Linked DNA regions of Homo sapiens: region 1 is linked to region 2. The links are contacts of gene promoters, found by promoter capture Hi-C in human tissues and cell types (Jung and others, 2019). All regions are on one chromosome and are shown on one strand. Each heading gives the region's core, a stretch centred on a gene start or on the middle of the fragment in contact. The rest is flanking DNA. Distances are from core to core; before and after follow the strand shown.

Region 1 (5,241 bases), core at 2,737-5,236, 200 kb after region 2:
AGATAGAGATCAGTGTTCACTAAATACATCCTTCTTTTCTAAAAAATATGCTTTCCCTCCCATCATGGTTCAGCTTATTAAATTGGTAATTCATTCAACAAAAAATACATTGAAGGACTAGTTTAAGTAGTGTGGAGCAGCCATTCACACATATGAATTAGTATTACCACATTTATATCTTCATGGTCTTCATTTTTCTACCCTCTCTAAGGACAGATAAAGCTTTGTCAGTTTTGATCTTGCTCTTAAGACTGGCTTTTATGAATCACCCACTGGCTAATATCTTTCAGTGTTTTATATTGCTGCTTTTTTCAAACTTGTAATTTCAGACATGGTTTCAAGTTTCAGCAAGTTTTTTATTACATATATATGTATATATAAATACATTTGTACATAAAATATTTACATATGCACATACATAAAATATATTATACATATATGTAAGCATACATATACATATGTACTATAATGACATCTATTTTTTATAAATATCTTTGAAAGATAATAGAAAATTATTCTAAAACCTGTCCACTTCCTAGTCAAGATTGTCTGATTCAATTTTCTTTTCTTTTTTTTTTTTGAGACGGGGTCTCGCTCTGTCTCCCAGGCTGGAGTGTAGTGGCGCGATGTCGGCTCACTGCAAGCTCTGCCTCCTGGGTTCACGCCATTCTCCTGCCTCAGCCTCCCGAGTAGCTGGGACTACAGGCGCCTGTCACCACGCCCGGCTAATTTTTTGTATTTTTAGTAGAGACGGGGTTTCACCGTGTTAGCCAGGATGGTCTTCATTTCCTGACCTCGTGATTCTCCCACCTCGGCCTCCCAAAGTGCTGGGATTTACAGGCGTGAGCCACCACGCCCGGCCGTCTGATTCAATTTTCTTAAATGTTGATTACATTCGGTGTGAGGACACGCCCCGCTCAAGAACCCACACCCCAACAGTCACCATCACTGCATGTTTCTAATAGACACTTGGTTTTAGCAAAACAAAACCATCTGTCACGTTAAATTAAATGTTAATATGAATGGGTTGGTTTTTTAGTTCAGTTTATACAAAAATTGAAATTTCATTTTGTTTAATAAGGTTTGTATCTAGTTTTGTGGCCCTATGTATATAAGTAACATTATTTTAAGATCAAGTTCATACTGGGGGGGAGTTCTTGACAATATTTTTTATTCCTAATTTAAGTTTCAGAAACGCATCTCTATTGTTTTAATTATTTGCTTGCTACCCTTCACAAGACAGGTGGTTATATTCCAGTGATATAATTGAGGGGAAGGCGGGGGAAAAGTGGGGTTACTTAGAGAACTATAGTATCAAAACATCTCTGAATTTGAAGGAAAGAGAGATTATGTAGTTTCACAGGGTCTCTATTCTGAAAATTTCTATACTACAAGCATGCATATTTCTCTTTATTGCATTACACATTAATTGCATTCTATATAGAAATTAAGACGCATTATAATAATTTTTCTTTACAATGAAAAATCAATACCTGATTTTCTGTTGAAGTTCTTGTGTAAAGTAGAACTTTAAGAATAAAAAAAAAACCTGTTAAATCCAACTCCATCCCACATACATCTATATTAACAGATTTAAAACGACAACAACAAAGCCTGGAGAACTTGAATGGCTTATCATACAACTTGTTGGTAGCTTAATCAGAACCTACCTTTTCTATATCTTAGACTCAGACTGAGACAGGCCTGCTTATGACCTGTGCCTAGGGCACTTTACACTTCTCCTTCATCAACTCAGAGTCACTAAAATGACCAGTATTTGCCTTCCCCCACTGGACTCAGAGCTCTGTCAAGACAGGAACCTCTTATGCCGGATTCCTGATGTAGCCCAGTGTTGAGCACATATTTGGTGAGTAAGAGAGTGGGTACAGGGAAGGGCAAAGAAATGAAATGAATACAAGGAAGGAAGGAAGGAAGGAAGGAAGGAGGGAAGGAAGGGAGGGAGGGAAGGAAGGGAGGGAGGGAGGGAAGAAACAACGGAGAGATAGGGCAGGTCTGTAAACCTCGAATCTACTCTTTCTACTATAGCATGCTCCATGCAAAACCTTAAATCTACTGCTTTTTTTGGGATTTTCACTTGAGATTATAATGCTGTCATACCCAAAGGGCCATAAGAATTGAAGCTAGTTTAACATGATACCATAACTGAAGAAAACTTTATGAAGGTAAGACTATGCATATTTCACTAAAACTATATATCTAAGCCAAGCACAATGCCTAGCATGTAGCATGTGCTGAAAACATATTTATTGGATAAGTGTATACAGGCATTTTGAGAAGACGAGGGAAAAGTGTCACAGCCCACTCATACAAATCTGTGACGTCTTCAGCCAAGCAATTCATTTGTTTAGAAAATGAATCACAAGAAAATCAAACACATCCTCAGCAAATGGATTACAGGAAAACTATCTTTAATCCAATATTGCAAGATTAAAATTTACATTTATAAAGGATAATACAAATAGAGGGAAATAGAACGTGAATAAAATGAAATTAAATGCCTTAGTAAAACACTACAGAAAGAAACCTGTTTCCTCTAAAATAAAGATTGGACAGTTGGTAAACTCAAAAGGTACAATGATCTCTCCCAACTGAACCAAGTACAGAGAAACTGCCCTAAGAATGAATGACCACTCTTAACCACCTGTATTGCAGAAAATCATATGCAGATGTTGCAAACTAAGCAAGAGCAATGAAAAAAAAATCAGTGGGAAGAGCAAGCAATGGGTGAGTCTGGGGAAGCAGTCAGGGAATGTTGTGGTGGGTTAGTGGTAGGATGAAAGATCTCAGTTATGGTAGCATGGAGTGGCAAAGAGAGAGTCCAGGCTTTGCAGCTGAATAGATTTGGATGGAACATTTCCCATCTATGTGATTTTGGATAAATTATCTTCTTTGAGCTTTAGTTTTTTTATGCACAAATTGAGGACTATGATAATTGCATTAGAGTTATTATATAAATAGTTGCTGACTATTTACATAGTCATATGTATTGCATATGACTAATGCAGTAAGCACTCATCAACGGTATTTTATTATTATCATTATTATTTTACTATTACTATTTTTCTATTATTTTTATTATTATTTTACTATTATGATTATGATTGCCTCAGCATCAGGGATCTTTGAACATAAAGGGGAAAAATGGTAGCACTATTTCACTTTGATATTTCTAGCAAGCTCCTAGGTGATGCTGATGGGGCTAATCCATGGACCACACTTTGAAAAGCCAGGTTGAGCCCTTTTGGAATCTCTGGCCGTCCTCCATAACCACAGTTCAACAAGATCTCCAAGTGAGTCCTATGTAAACCAAAGTGTAAGAAGCACTAATGTAGGGTACAGATCTTCTGATGCAAGAATTCTTTCTACAAGAGAGACTGTGAGGACAAGTTTACTTTGTGCTAAACAATAACAATTATGTTAATGGAGGTACATCGTTTTGAGTTTTCTTCTCCTTGTGTCCTGCAGGAAGAAGGATCAGTTGAGGAGGCAGCTGATGTTACAGAAGAGCTGACCCTCACTCACTGTCACTGAGGCAGCTAAGCTTGACTCCCTTGCTTTTTATAGAATGAGGATTTGAAAACAGCTGGGCTGCTGTGTTCTTAGAGTGTTACTAGCTAGGCCAAAGTGGATCAGCTGTTACTAGGGTCCCTTTAAGCCTTTCTTGTTGTGGCTTGGTTCATTTTCAAAGGCAGCAAGTAGAAAAGGTGCCTAGTGCTTCTCCCTGTCCAATGCAGCTAATTGCCCCTCAGTTCTGAGCAAAAGGCATCCCTTGTGCTTTGATGCCTGAATGTATGGGAAGGTGCAACTGGTTTACTTGTCTGGGGCCTCTCTGGGAGAGATTTGTAGTCCCAAATTTATCATGGGGGTATGTAAAGGGACATGGGTTGGAAACAGCAGAGACTATTTTCCCGTCTGAATCTCTGTCCTTAATCGAAAGTAGAATGGTTTCTACCTCACTGTTGGTCAGGCTTTGAGGAAACAGAAATGGAGAAGTGGGAAAAGCTATGGGAGAATTAAATAAGGGGAGAAAATTCAAAGGAATTTTCTAGCTCCGAAGAGAAATTTAGACCACAAAAAGGAGAATCTTGGATTCATGCCCCCTGGCTGCATATTATCAGAATAATCTTTGTATTACAGTGGGGTAAGAACGAAACAGGTCTGCTATAGATACTCACTTATCAATCAGGAGTCAGAGTCTATAAAATAGAGGTGAAGTAAGAAACAGGTTAATAAGAGAACAGTATATCTACAATCTGTCTGGTTCAAATAGCCTCATCCTCTTTTGAGAAGCCAAATCTACGCTCACTACTCCCCCTGCTGGATCTACAAGAGTAGATTCCCAGATTCATAAACTGCAAATCATTCATTTAACCTGCTCTCTATGAATTAAGCACTTGCACTGAAGTACGCAATGCCATTTTGATGGAATGGGGAGAACAAGGCCAACTCTTATATTTCTGACTGTTTATATTGCTAGATAAAAAAGAAAATCCAGCATAACTTATTTTCCATAGGAAAGAAAAATAAAAGCAAAAGGTCCCAGCTGTAGACACCTTGATAGCATTGATATGTAAGTATTCCTAGAAATAATGAATAAGTATTCTGCATGTACTACAGCAGCAAGACTTGCGCAACTTCTCCTCCCCTTTCTCTTTCTGTAAATCTCACAGCAAGGACAGTGAGTGCTTCCTTCTTTCTCATTGCAAATGGAAATGCTCTCGGCATGCTGGCTTCAATGGCAAGTATTGCATTATTTTAAAAACTTTCAGAGAAAAACAGTAAGAATGATTGAACAGCTCACCACGGGCAGGTAAAATCTATTAAAAGCATTTTTATTCTTTATTTCTAAAATAGTTTGTCATAAACATCCCTCCTTAATTCCTCTTTCCATCTTAATCAGGAAGCTTTTATCATGGGATCATTTTAAAAATTTTATTGTGGATAATTTCAAACCTATACAAAAGTGAAAAAGATAGTACCACCCTCCACACACTCATCCACCCAGCTTCAACAGTTATTGACACAGGTCCAATCCTCAGTGTCTAACTTTCTCCTGTAGCATTATTTTCAAGTATATATCACACATATTATTTCATTAATAAATGTTCTAGTATGTATTCTAAAACATACTAGACTATTATTCATTAATTATATACAGATTAATATATATTTATATATACTGTTATTATATATTTATATATTTATATTAATATATAATAT
Region 2 (4,867 bases), core at 1,255-3,754:
ACCTAGAAGCTCTGATCTTTTTTACCCAGCCATTTGGCTTTAATCTATTATAACAAATTAGTTTAGCACTGAGAAAAACAAGACAAAGTACAGTTATTATTAAACACAATTAGTGTATGATACAAAAATTATAGGTCACTTGTTCATTATATGTCCATTAAAAGGTAAAAGCTGTTTACATTGTAAGTGTGACACTTAGCTTAACAGGAATATCTCTCTTAAATAGTAATGCTTAAAAAGTTATAGAAAAATAATAAAATGAAAAATACTCAAATACTTTTATGTTTCCAATGCAAAACTGCAATGCTTTTTATAGGCATCCTGTTCTTAGTGAAATGCTCCTGTTTATAATACATCTTTTGACTATGATCTTGGGGAAATTACATTATTTCTGTAAAATGAGTCTGTTCACAAATACAGCTATGTTAAATGCAATACTGGGCATAGGTTTTCTTGACAAACAATATGCAATAATGTTGGTTCTTTACACTCTTGATTACTTGGTTAGGCCACTAGAAATAAAAATTCAAACCAATTGAGGGTGGTGGCTTACTTATTTTAATTTTTTTTTTTTTTTTTACTTCTTTGGCATTTATAGTATTAAATTTTCAGGCATCAATTAAAATTTGATAACCAGAGCTTATGATGATAAAGACTTTTCTGAGGCTAACTTTTGCTTTCAGCTAAGTCTGTAGTTTGGAGTCTATAGATCTCGAGGAAAAATAATCTTAGAAAGTGCCTCTGTAGTTGAATAAATACTGAAAACGGATTCAAATGCAGTGTTATTTCAAATTCCATGTCCATTTCTCATTTGGTGACTTGCTCCAATAAAAGAACGAAAATGCTTCAGAATTCATTACTGAGTGTACATTTCCTGCCATGTTCTCCCACCCCACCCCCTAGCTATCTGAGATGCTTTGGTAACTGATAAACTGCAATTGTTTATAAACAATAACATGGCAGGCACCATGTGAAAAACAGAAATATAGGCCCAGTTTCCATTATCCATTCTAATAGGCATTCATTACATTGTACAAATATACAGAATATCTAAAATCCTTCTTTCACGTTATGGTTTTAGTCTTTTATTTTTAAAAGATAAACTTAAAAAGTAGTAGATTGATTTTATTTTTAGTTTCCGTCCCTCTCTTTTTTACCCAATCCCTTGTAAAAATGCTGCGAAGGTTTTTGGGCTTGGCAGAAACAGAAACTTTGGAAAGATTTTTTTACAGGTTACATTTACTTATTATTAGCATTTATTTTACAGGTTACATTACCTTAGAGGGGGAGTTATTAGTTTGAGTTTTATCATCTGTCTTGGTGGGTTTAGCATGCTGAAGAGGCCCACAGTGCTGACACTCCCGCGCGTCCCACCCTGAGTAAACCCGGAGCCTAGAGGGCTGCAGAAACACGTCCGCCAGGCGTCTCCTGCCCCAGAAGAGGAGGCCGCATGGATGCGTCTTTTTTCCAGAGACCCCCCCGCCACAGCCGCCCCGCAAGCCAAGATCAGAGAACCCCTTCCTTGGGTGGGGTAGGGGGACGCCCCCGGCCAAAGCCTGGATTGCGGTCTGGCGTCCCGGCAGCCATCCGGATGCTCGCGAGGACCGTGGCCTGTTTGGCACAAGAGCCCCACTGCCTCCCAGTTCGGAGCTTGCTGGGGACCGGCAATCTGGGCGGTGCTGGAAGTGTCCCCTGAACCTCTCAGTTTTCACCCACCTTCTGCAATCTCCCTGTAAGCTTAATTGACTCTTGACACACCGCACTGGAGGCGGGGTGTGTGTGTGGGTAAACTCCGTGTGTGGTGGGTGATATTGCGAAGTGTTGGCACTGCGGCCGCTTTCGCTCCTAGGTGGCCGCGGTCGGAAGGTGGGTCACCCCGCACCCTTGCGGCCGGGGACCGACTCTCCTTCGCGCGGCGGTCGCCACACTTACGGGATCCGAGGCGGGATCTCCTCCATCGATTTGAAACGCCCTGTCCACAGCAGGATTTTCTTGTCGAACTGCGAAGGCCTGCGCTGCGTGGGGACTCGGTGAATCTCCCCTGCAGCGAAAGCAACCCAGATGGACGCGGGAACTGACGCACCGGCACAGAGGATCAGCGCGCCCTCAAGCCGACTCCCGGGCCGGCCCCTCGCTGCCCTCCCGCAACCTCCTCCCTCCCAGGACCTCCCCGTCGGAGCCCTGGCTCACCGTGACCTTGGGGCCCAGAATTGCTGGGGGCCCCGCCGCTGGAGTAGCAGGGGAGACCCCGGGGCGGAAGAGCCGGTGCGGGCCGTCGCGTGGCCTCGAGAGGCGCCCCGGGGCCGCAGCGGACTGTTAGCCCGCGGCCAAGGCGCAGTAGGCTCCCGACCGCCCTGAGCATGCTGCCCGCTTGTCCCGCGCCGCACCCGCACCTCCGGACCCAGCCACAGGCGTTGTCCCCGCAGCTCTCCTCGTCCCGCCCCGGCCTGCCGCGCGCTGGAGAGCCTGGGACGTGCAGCTGGAACCCCTGGCGCTCGCACACTCAGCTCGCTATCCCCGTCTCCGCCCCCGGCCAGCGACCCGGGATCAGGGCGTCAAGCCCCGAGGGGCTGGTTCCTCAGGAAGCAGCCTGCCTCTGTTTGAAACAGGCTCACCACCGCCTGAGGCAGTGCGTGTAGCTCCTTTTAAATTCTTTGTATTGAGTAGAAATGTATTCCCGCCAGGCTTTTAGCCTTTGATTCCATCGTTTGTTCCCCAGGAGAATAAATCTAAATCCTCTCTTCCAGGAAGAGACAACAATCCTTCAAGTGCAGGAAACTGAAGACATTTCCCAATTAAGTGTTAAGGGCACTCCACTAACTTCTGGATGAGATTTCTTGAAGTTAGCTCCTCACCTCATCGTCTCCCACCCCCATACCTTTTCTCTTTCCTACGGAAAACAATCTCAATTCCTCCAAGTGCCTTTCTCTATCTTTTCTTCTTCTTTTCAGAGACAGTCTCTGGCTCTGTCACTCAGGCTAAAGTGCAGTGGCATGCTGATAGCTCATTGTAACGTCGAACTCCTGGACTCAAGTAGTCCTCCCACCTTAGCCTCCAGAGTAGCTAGGGCTTTGGTCGTGCGCCAGCACGCTCCGCTATTTTTTTTTTTTTTAAGAGATGGGATCTCACTATGTTGTCCAGACTGGTCTCCAACTCCTGGCCTCAAGCTATCAGCTGGGCTCTGCCTCCCAAAGCACTGGGATTACACGTATGAGCCGCCATGCCAGCTTCCTACCTCTTCATCTCTTAGCCCACAAACTCTCCACACTCCCTTCAAAATGTGCCTTTCTTCTGTCACCTTCCACCATCTCCTCTATGCTAAAAGGTAAAAGAATCTACTATTTTCAGGCATTAAATGGTAACAGGGATTCAGATTCAATGATTGGAGAGAAGGGTTGTACAAGCAATTTACTTATCTTGTTCCACAGACAACAGACCTCCTGCCAAGTCAAAGTGCTCATCAGCCCAGCACCAGGCCGAGCTCACCCTCCTCTGCTATTACTGCCTGTGAGTTTCCCTCCTTATCTAGACACTGCTTTGCACTTGTTGGATTTCTAGATATTTTGCTTCCTAACTAGACTGTCAGGCTCTTGAAAGCTATAACTTTTCTGTAACTGCCAGCTCAGTTTTTTTTTCTTTTTACATAACCGTGTTAAACAAAAAAAGAGGGGTTAATAGCTCTGTGAAGACATACATTTAGAGGAGCGCTTGCAGAAGGAACATGGGCTTTGCCTTCACACCTAGGTTTAAATCCCGGATTTGTGACTTAAAAGTTGCACAATCATGAGCAGTAAATCATTTAAGTTATAAGTCTTGGTCTCTTTTGTAAAACCAGAATTCCTATCTTTTAGGTTTATTCATGCAATGACTACCAGTAACCAGCTACGTGCCAGCTACCTCTCAGAGCTGGGGATGGAGCAGTGATGACATCAGGTGAAGATGAAGAAAAATAAAACAAGGTGAAAAAGAATAAGCAGGAGTAGAGTGAGAAGATATTTAGAAACCATGGTTAGCAATGTCCTTCTAAATGTGCCTGGTGTGTAATAATACTTCAGAAGATAATGATTTCTTTCCCCGTCACATTCTTTAGTCCCAAAACACAAGGGCATTTTAATTTATGAAATCTCCTGTGGGGAACTAGGAGCTCCCTGACCTTCAGGAGTTGTGATTATATTCCCAAGATATAGCTGAAAAATTGGCACTTAGTAGATATTTAATAAGTATTTGTTAAATAAATGAATAGATGAATACAAGTCTTCGAAAACAGAATAGTCTGCACCTAGGCTAGTTTACGAAAAGACTGAGATGCTTGAGGACATTCTATGTCCTTTTAAACTTCATACTTTCAGTGTCTATCATGTTGCTTACCACATAGCGGTCTCCAAATAAGTGTTTATAAAACTCAACTGAATGAATTCCTGCCTGAGAAAGTATGTTGCCATAGCTAATATTGCTCCAGCATTATGGTACTTGAAGATTCTTGCATTATTTAAATGTGGTTTTTTCTATTAGTATTTTATTTGTCTTCACATCACTGAGAGGGAGTATCCATAGAGCTAGAGAAAGCCATCACTGAGAAACAACCAATCGTTAATAATTCACTAAGAAATATTAAACAAGGGAAATAAGTTTATTTCCCTGGAGGGAATCAAATGTCATAAATATACACAGGATTTTCTATTTCGAGCTTCTCCAGTATTGCAGAACTACAGGTCAACAGAATAAGCTCAAGTCATGAGAGAAAGAACAATTTGCTGTTCTCTATTCCTGATGGGATTAAAATATCACTATTTGGCAGTAGTCTACATAAATAAATTACTTACAGCTGCATTAGAGATTTTTTTCAGTTCTATAATTAGAACAAGTA

Evidence for each region. Contacts are between HindIII fragments. The study calls those that stand out against the background at their distance.
Region 1: a contact is called between a fragment that was not itself captured here and the fragment with the promoter of FAM162B in region 2, in 1 of the 25 tissues and cell types used here (thymus).

Annotation. Positions count from the first base shown.
Region 1 is chr6:116,965,058-116,970,298 of GRCh38, forward strand. No RefSeq gene overlaps it. Among named protein-coding and RNA genes, the nearest start is that of RFX6, 90 kb to the left of the region's middle. The HindIII fragment of the contact is 4,188 bases long and covers 1,893-5,241 here.
Region 2 is chr6:116,763,215-116,768,081 of GRCh38, forward strand. It overlaps FAM162B (family with sequence similarity 162 member B), which reads right to left and starts at 2,505. Exons shown (of 4, transcript NM_001085480.3): 1 at 2,191-2,505; 2 at 1,933-2,041. The coding sequence starts at 2,362. It overlaps LOC105377963 (a long non-coding RNA gene), which reads left to right and starts at 3,154. Exons shown (of 3, transcript XR_942910.3): 1 at 3,154-3,325; 2 at 3,429-3,507; 3 at 3,852-4,806. RefSeq lists an enhancer at 1,526-2,040. The HindIII fragment of the contact is 7,101 bases long and covers 283-4,867 here.